3 separate regions of the Homo sapiens genome follow, and regions 1 and 3 are each linked to region 2. Evidence: promoter capture Hi-C in 16 types of primary human blood cells and fetal thymus (Javierre and others, 2016). All regions are on one chromosome and are shown on one strand. Each heading gives the region's core, a stretch centred on a gene start or on the middle of the fragment in contact. The rest is flanking DNA. Distances are from core to core; before and after follow the strand shown.

Region 1 (2,700 bases), core at 128-2,627, 920 kb before region 2:
TGTATCAAAACTGCACGTTCTGCACAAGTACCCCAGATCTTAAAGTATTAAAAAAAAAAAAGATTGCTGAATTAAGTACTCTTCTTTAGTAAATATGGGTGAGGATCTCAAAAACTAATGAAATCTGTACACAGTAGCAAAGTAGGACTCAGGAGTTCTGCCTATTCTCTCTTGTTGGTTCCTCTTTAATAAACTAGAAATGCACACCAAATACGGAAAAAGAGAAAGCAGACGATTACATATAGTACCAAATCTCAAAGATCACATTTTCTAGTTTAAGTTTTCTTGTTATTTGTGACTAAATACTTAAATTACCTAATTAAATTAAAACACAAGCCTCAAAGGTATGTTTACAGTGATTCATAAAATTACAGGCCATGCCACTGTGGTTTAAATTTACAACTTAATTTTATAATTAAGCCCCAAAGACTATAAACGGGGGGATGGGGAGGGGGGAGAATGTAAATAGATACGGTATACCTATTTTCAACAATAACTGAGCAATTTTAAAAACAAGAATAAAATTTAACAAATCGAAATTAAAGTAACATTATCTTTAAAATCTCACTGACATTCTTCTCCTCAAAGTACTAAATAATAACATCTTTAGTACTAAAAATACCAGAAGTCAGTTACTATTCATCTTACACATGGAGACAATGAAGTCAAAACTGCAGTAAACAATTTTACTAAAATGAATACAGTACCAAAAAAAAAAAAAAGGAGGATTAAAATCCAAAGCTCCTGTTTACAGGATCCATGATGTATTCAAAAACCAAGACACCTAATCAAAGATCCTGCAAAAATTCAATTACTCAAGCTTCTGTTCACCATGCTAAAAATGCCTGTGCAGGAAATACACTCTCTGACAAACTTCACAGAGAAAAATGAAAAGTATAAACACACTCAAAGGACCTGATAAATGGATACCTGCATAATAACTAGATACGATGAAGTATTTTCCCCAAATTTAACAAGTCTTTGACTTAAAATTTAAATATCCTATAGGTATTAACAGGATAAATTAATACAACACTGATAAATAATACATGTTAAGCCTATGGTACAAGTTTGAATTTGAGGCGTCACACAAGAATTTTAAGTATCCACGCATCCCATTACAGCCTCAGACCTCCAGAAATTACTTTGTTAAATATCCATGAAGGTCTTCCCGGGCCACATGTGTCTAATCAATAGGGGGTTTACTAGACAACACTTTTCAGAAGGAAATATGTTAAGGAAATACAATTTTATTAACAATTATCTATTTTATTATCTTATAAATATTCAAAGGAAATCTTTGTTAATTACTAATATACTTTCCTAAATGCAATACACCTCATTTACAGACTAAAACACATTTTAGAGTCTAAAGTAGTGGTTCTCAACTGACAGCAATTAGCAATGTCTGGTGACTTTTTTGGTTTTCACAACTGGAAGGTGCTACTGGCATCTGGGGGGTACAGGCCAGGGACTCTGCTAGACATCCTAACATGTACATAACAGCTCCATACAACAAAGAATTATCCAACACCAGTGTCAATAGTGCCAAAATATGAAACCCTTGTCTACAATCCAAATTGCATTGTAAGGACTATTAAGGTTTACTTACCTTTAAATTTAATATCCAGACCACTAAATTCCAATTCAACCCCTTGAAGTGCTTCTCCCAGAGTTTCATGGTAATGACTGATACTTTTTTTTGACCCCACACAGAATGGAAGTGAAAAGTACTTATATGTTTCTTGACGATTATGGTAGGGCCCAACAGTATTCATCCATAAGACAACTTCCTCTTTATCTTGATACTGAAACAAGAAAAGCAAACAAGAATTAAAAAAAAAAAACACACTAATTCAAATTAAGGGAATATTTGTTGTGTGTTCTAAACAAAAGTGCATCATCTCTGTTCAGGAAGCTATAAAATAAATACTGGAAGCTTAATCTGATGATGAATGTCCACATCTTAAAAATGAAACTTTGTGAATTTTAAAATTATATCCTCTGATTGTAGTCTCAGGCAGATACACCTTTTCCAAACTTGTTTTATAGAAGACAGTGTTTGAACTAAGCCCAATAGCTCATAAGAGTGTGTCTATTATTTACATTTACACTATCAAATAGTGGCAAACCTGCAACCAGCATGATTCACCATGCTAACATGGACAAGGAAGGAGGAAACAAAATCAAGTTTATCCAGAACCTCATGTTAATCAATTAAAAAAAAAAAAAAACCTAATGTTGCCAGCAAGCATAAATAAAATTTCATCTCCTTGCGAGACTTTCACACAGCCACTGGTCAAAGTACTACAGAGGACAAGGAAGAAGACTGCTATAGAACCTCCACAAGTCCATTCAAGCCAACATTCTATCTTGTTAGCAGCCTGAAAGACATGCACTATATGCATATTTCTTTGAATAAGTAATTATGGAACTACATATCAGTGAATATTATACATGGCTAAATCTGAAGTGTGGTCAGTAATGACTTTGAGTAGTTCCAAGGTACAAGTGGGAGGCCTGTCAAAGATTTCTAAGATCTCGACAAGTTTAAAGTTCCAATGATTCTATGGAAACTGATTACCATGGTAATTTTAAAACTAATAATTCTAAGTAGCAGTATAAATTAAAGACAACATTGGATGCATTTAAATCAACTAATAGTGCAGACATTAATTCACTGAACAATTATTTACTAAG
Region 2 (2,700 bases), core at 28-2,527:
ACCTCTTACAGAATGGTTGCCTCTCCCAGCATACTATAAGTTCCTGGTGGGCACAGATCTAACCTAATTTGTATTTATATTCCTATTGCTTTGCATCATGTTTGGGGAATAATATGTATTCAACAATAGTGGCATGATTGAATTAAAGTGGAATACTGCTAACGAACAAAGTATTATATTTCTAGCAGATTCACTATTCTTTTCTTACATATTCTAAAGGTTAATACGCTCAATATCCAAGAGAAATGTGTCCTTACTTCTCTCCAAGCATACGAAATTTCCAAAGTTTTTTTAAAAAAACTACTCATTAGATAATTTTATATTGTTACTTAAACCCAAGATCTGAAGGCCTCCTAACATTCAATAACTTTTTAGTAGTTTTTTTTTTTTCCTAGAAGAGCAAAGTCTCAGAACTCCACGGAAGCCTGGAAATCGTTTTATTCTAATTTTAGATAAGCTGTCTGAACTAAGAGATCTCTGAACTGGTCAAAAGCAGGAAAGTGGGGGTCTGGGAAGAAGACAAAAACAAACGCCACATAAAACGTCATGGAGCAAACTAATCAAGAACTTTAGCAAGAAACGGAGAGAAAGTCTTAAGGAGGACACCCAGAACATCTCCAGCTCCTCCTGGCCCGTCTCCTCAACTCCTCTTAATTCCAGCCAGTCAGAGCGCGGGGCCATCTGCCACTCCCAGGATGCCACGCGACGGGAGCGGACGCTGCGAGGATGCACCTCCACACGTCAACCTCCCACAAACAGCATGGCTTCGTGGCGTGAGCACCCGGTTCGGACCTGAACGCCTGGGTCCGAGTCCCACCTCCCCCTCCTGCCTGGTCTGCAGCCCTGCGCAAGTCCTCTTGCCCTCGCTGAGCCTCAGTTTCCTCATCTGTAAAATGTAATGATTCCCTATAATTGGCTACAGGGAGATGAGAAGTGTAAATGGTTTTAAGGAAGACACAGGCAACTCTCTAACTTGTTACGGCTCTGAACCTCGCGGTGCTCACTAACCAGCCTTGAGACCAATCTCTCAAAGTCACCCCGCTCCTCCCTTCCCGCCCGGCGCCTGTACTGAGGCCGCTCCCTCCTGTTGGCCCCCATGCGGAAGGCGCGCGGCGCCGTCTGCCGTACCTGCAGCCACCTGGTCAGCGGGGCCCTCTTGCTGACCCACGACGAAGTCGTGCACGAGGCCCCATAGGGCACCCATAGGCGCCGCCGCCTCCACAGCCGCGGCAGCGGCCATAACGCGAACTAGAGACCGTGGGAGGGGATATGGGCGGTGGCTCGAGACGGGCTCTCCGCGCATGCGCCTCCCGAGCCAATCTCCGGGGAAGCGCAAGGGGGCGGGGCGCCGGGGTCACGTGCCTGCCGGCTTCTGCCTAGGCAGTTCCAGGGAGGGGCGGGGCCTGAAATGGGGCGGTGGCACCGAGAGGGAAGGCGGCTGCTGGGCACGCAGCCGGAGGCGATTGAGGGCGAATAATTCCCAGCCCGGCTCCCCGGGAGACGGGCTGCGGGGCGGGCACCTGGCTGGGTGGGGAGAGGGGCGGTACGCACCACGGGGGAAGCCAATGAGAAAATCAGGCCCAGCCCTAGGGGGCGGTGCTGTCGGTCACATGCGCACCTGGGGCGGGTGGTGGCGGCGGCGCGGGCACCGCGAGCCGGCGGAAGGGAGAGGGGCCGGCCTGGGGCGGGGTTAGGCAGGTGAGTGACAGGCTCCAGGGGGCCGGCCCCTGCCTGGTGCCCCGAGCGAGCCGGGAGTAGCTGCGGCGGTGCCCGCCCCCTCTCTCCGCCCCTCCAGCGGAGCTGGTCTCCGGCCGGGCACCGTCGCGGGCCCCCCTGGCCCGGCCACCTGGGACCGTGCTGGGGAGTCTGCCACTTCCCTCTCTCCCCTGGCCCGCAAAGTTTTGGCGGAGCCATCGCTGGGGCTGAGCGCGCCCCCGGGGGGAGATCGGGGAGCGCCCGATGCCGGGCGGCCGGAGCCATTGACCCGGGACGCCGCCGTCCGCTGAGCAGCCGACCACCCCGCCGCCTCCGGTGCATGGGGACTGGCTGAGGAGCCAGCATGGGCAACTGCGTGGGGAGACAGCGCCGGGAGAGGCCGGCAGCCCCGGGACACCCCCGCAAGCGAGCAGGTAACGATGGGGAAGGGAGCAGGGCCTCGGGCATCCCGCCAGTTGTCCCCCTCCTCGCCCGAGTCCTGGGCTTACCGATGGACTCCCCACTGGTGCTGGCGCTTGGGTTTCCCCGATGGGCTGCTCCGCAGCCAGAGGGGGCCGCTCCCCAGCGCCGGGCGGCCGGGGGAGCTGAGTTGGGGCAACTGCGAGCACTGAGCCGGCTGCGCGACCAACTCTCTCCAACTGGGTAGCTCCTGGTGGGGGTGGGGGCAGGAAATGTTTGCAGACCGCAGCGGGGCCGACGGATCGGGAGGAGGCCGGGGGCGAGGGCGCCGCTGGCCTGGCAGCTCCGGCCGGGGTCGGACGCCGGCCCGTCGGGGCACGGCGCGGGCAGCCAGGCGTCCCCAGAACTCGGAGCGAGCGAGGCGAGAACAGTCGCTCCTTCCAAAGACTGTGTCATTATCGAGCTGCAGATCGTGTCTGCGGGAATCCGACTTGCAAAGCAGCGCAGGACTCTGGGAAAGAAATCTTTATTTTTCCCGCAGGGGTTTTTAGAGCCTCTCGGCCGTCTGGGAGTCTATAAAAGATG
Region 3 (2,700 bases), core at 67-2,566, 640 kb after region 2:
GGTAAATGGCATTATGTCACAAGGTGTCTACAAAGATGAAATGAGATGTGACCATAAATGGCTTACTAGTGCTGGGTACAAATAAAGTTCTCATTATTTTGTTGCTGTTGTTATTGATGATTATGATAATAGTGATGATGATAATTTTAGGTATTTTCCTGAAATTCCATTTATCTGTAAAATGAGGATAGTCATCCTTAATTCACAAACTTTAAAAAATACTGTAAATAGAAGTTGTCAGATTGCAGTTTGTTTTTTAGCAATTGCATTTTATATAAAAATTATATTAGATTTTTTTTCAACTTTAGAGGTTCCTAAAATGCTGTTGTGCAAGGTTATTGGGCTTTGCTGTGTTTCTGTTTTTCTAGAGATTCCAAATGTTGCTTTGTACCTAGTTTGTTGAAATTGAACTGGTGCTTCATTTACAACCTGTAGTAAGAATGCAATTCTGTACATTGTAGCTTGTAGCAGAGCAATTATCTATCTTTATGACTCAGATATTGACTAGGATAGACGTTTATGGAACAGTTTTGTCTTCCTGCCTTATTTTTATTTTTATTTTTTTTAAGCCAGACTATTAGACTTTAAAATTTAAGCTTATTGGATAGGGTCTGGGAGACTTGGTGACCTTCATTTTTTCAAGATGGCATTTCTTAGTGACTGATGCTAATGATGGCATTGGTATGTATGTATCTGCAGGGAGTGAGAGTTGAGAAAAACCAAGGAGGAAAGCCTTATAGAGAAAAATGGTTTGTTGGTCAAGGCAAAGTCTTGGAGTTTAGAATTGAAGTATATATTTTTTACTTCCTTCAAGTGCCATGTTGACTACCAGATATCTGCAGATTCAGATGCTTAGGAAATGTTTCCTTTACTCTCTTTTTTGATGTGGTATGCCTGTGCTATGTTTTGCCAGCTTCTTTCTTACCTTTAGTTATGAATCAGCAAGATAACTATTTTTTCACACCAGACTTGTATACAAAGCTATGACAATAGAAAGTCACTTCCATTAAAATCTACTTTGTATGCTATAATGTGTTAATTTTTCCTTTATGTTTTAATCTTAAACACTTTTGGCTGGGCCTGGTAGCTCACTCTTGTACTTTCAGCATTTTGAGATCCTCTGAGGTAGGCTCATTTGAGGCCAAGAGTTCAAGACCAGCCTGGGCAACAAAGTGAGACTTCATCTTTATTAAAAAAAAAAAATCAATTAAACACTTTTGTTCCTTGACTGTTTTTTACTTAAAAGGAATTTTTGGAAGGTATGCTAATTCTCATCTATAGTGTGTGAGTATGTATAGTGGATGCTCAGTAATGAGTGTGCTGAATAGTTCTGAATAGGAACATTTTGTTGATTGTCCTAGGTCACTGAGGTGCACTCTGGAGAGGCCATGTAGCATTGTGGCAATAACCTATGCTTTGGAGTCAAGACAGACCAAGGTCTGAATCCAGGCTCACTAGATGTAACTTTGGTTCATATGATCATTCTGAATTCAGTTTCTCATCATCTGGAAGACAGATTAGACTAACCCTGCATGGTTGAGAAGATTAAAGATTATTCGAATGAGGCACATATTAGCCAGGTTTAGTATAATATTAAAGATTGGGGTGGTGTTGTTATTACTATTTTTAATTTTTATTTTTTTTCTGAAAGGTATGGATTTTGTTGATACATCTATATTCATTCCCCTAATGCTTCAATGATCAGTGTGTTTCTTAGCCAAGGTTAAGGTTGTTGACTGTGACCATGGAACCTAGAAACACACAGCAAAGCTAATTGGCCAGCATGGAGTTTGAGTCTGTGACCTTGTCCTCATTAGCTCCATAAGCTAACTATTCACAAATATCTCACCAGAATGAATGAAAAGACTGGTATATTTTTTATTTGGCCCTAATGCAACTCATTAGACATAAGTAAATGAACTAGTGCCAGAAGCAAAAGTATAGATTTTTCATTAGCTTATATAAATATATGATTAGCCGTCACACTATGTATAAAACTCGTGACCTGTAGGATGATCTTTGACAACCCCAGTAACCTAAGCTTATAATTTAGACATTTCTTTTAGTTGTTGAATTATATTTGTTGTAGACTTCTCACCTATAGGAGAAGTGAGAAGAAATGGAGCTAGGCTATTCATGCCTTGAAAGAGTACCCTCCTTCTGTTGTGCTACCCACGAGGAAATGTGCTCTTCGCTAGTGCAGAAAACATTTAGAATTATCCAGTAATGAGCCCAGCAGGATGGATGAAGCTTGGGGAACTCCTAAGAGCTTATTGAATTACAGAGAAATTCCAGTTGTCAAAGCATTAGATAGAGGAAAAGTTATAGGGTGTTACTTAGCAGCAGTAAGCCTGCATTTGGAGAGAATTTTCTTTTCTCTTAATAAAACATGGACCAATTGCTTCGAGTCTGTGGTGTCCATTTTTCACTGTCTCATGCTAGCCTTCTGTATAGTTTTTCATTCTTCAAATTCACCCTTCAGTTTTATTAATATTTGTTGTCCTTCTTGTATCTTTTTTTTTAATGCCAGATATAGCTGGATTGGGACTAGGGATAAAAACAGAAGCAGAGAAGCACTGTTGGAAAACAGATTCTAGTATCTAGTATCGTGAGGTTTCCAAATAACATGGGTCAAACTGAACATGAGGATACGGATTTCTGGGATAGGCAAATGGCTGACAGTTCATGACCATTTAACCT

The links. The method cuts DNA at HindIII sites, captures the fragments that hold promoters and counts their contacts. A CHiCAGO score of 5 or more calls a contact.
Region 1: a fragment that was not itself captured here is called in contact with the fragment with the promoter of MMS19 in region 2 in 1 of 17 cell types (neutrophils); the score reaches 6.5 in neutrophils.
Region 3: a fragment that was not itself captured here is called in contact with the fragment with the promoter of MMS19 in region 2 in 1 of 17 cell types (naive CD4 T cells); the score reaches 5.1 in naive CD4 T cells.

What each region holds. Positions count from the first base shown.
Region 1 is chr10:96,575,022-96,577,721 of GRCh38, forward strand. TM9SF3 (transmembrane 9 superfamily member 3) reads right to left here. Exons shown (of 15, transcript NM_020123.4): 2 at 1,613-1,808. Among named protein-coding and RNA genes, the nearest start is that of TM9SF3, 11 kb to the right of the region's middle. The HindIII fragment of the contact is 1,119 bases long and covers 819-1,937 here.
Region 2 is chr10:97,497,145-97,499,844 of GRCh38, forward strand. MMS19 (MMS19 cytosolic iron-sulfur assembly component) reads right to left here and starts at 1,278. Exons shown (of 31, transcript NM_022362.5): 1 at 1,129-1,278. The coding sequence starts at 1,240. It overlaps UBTD1 (ubiquitin domain containing 1), which reads left to right and starts at 1,780. Exons shown (of 3, transcript NM_024954.5): 1 at 1,780-2,129. The coding sequence starts at 2,060. RefSeq lists enhancers at 403-933, 610-659, 1,020-1,189 and silencers at 1,430-2,189, 2,200-2,399. The HindIII fragment of the contact is 10,400 bases long and covers 1-2,700 here.
Region 3 is chr10:98,137,338-98,140,037 of GRCh38, forward strand. The region is part of intron 1 of R3HCC1L (R3H domain and coiled-coil containing 1 like); the gene reads left to right. Among named protein-coding and RNA genes, the nearest start is that of R3HCC1L, 4.0 kb to the left of the region's middle. The HindIII fragment of the contact is 1,445 bases long and covers 595-2,039 here.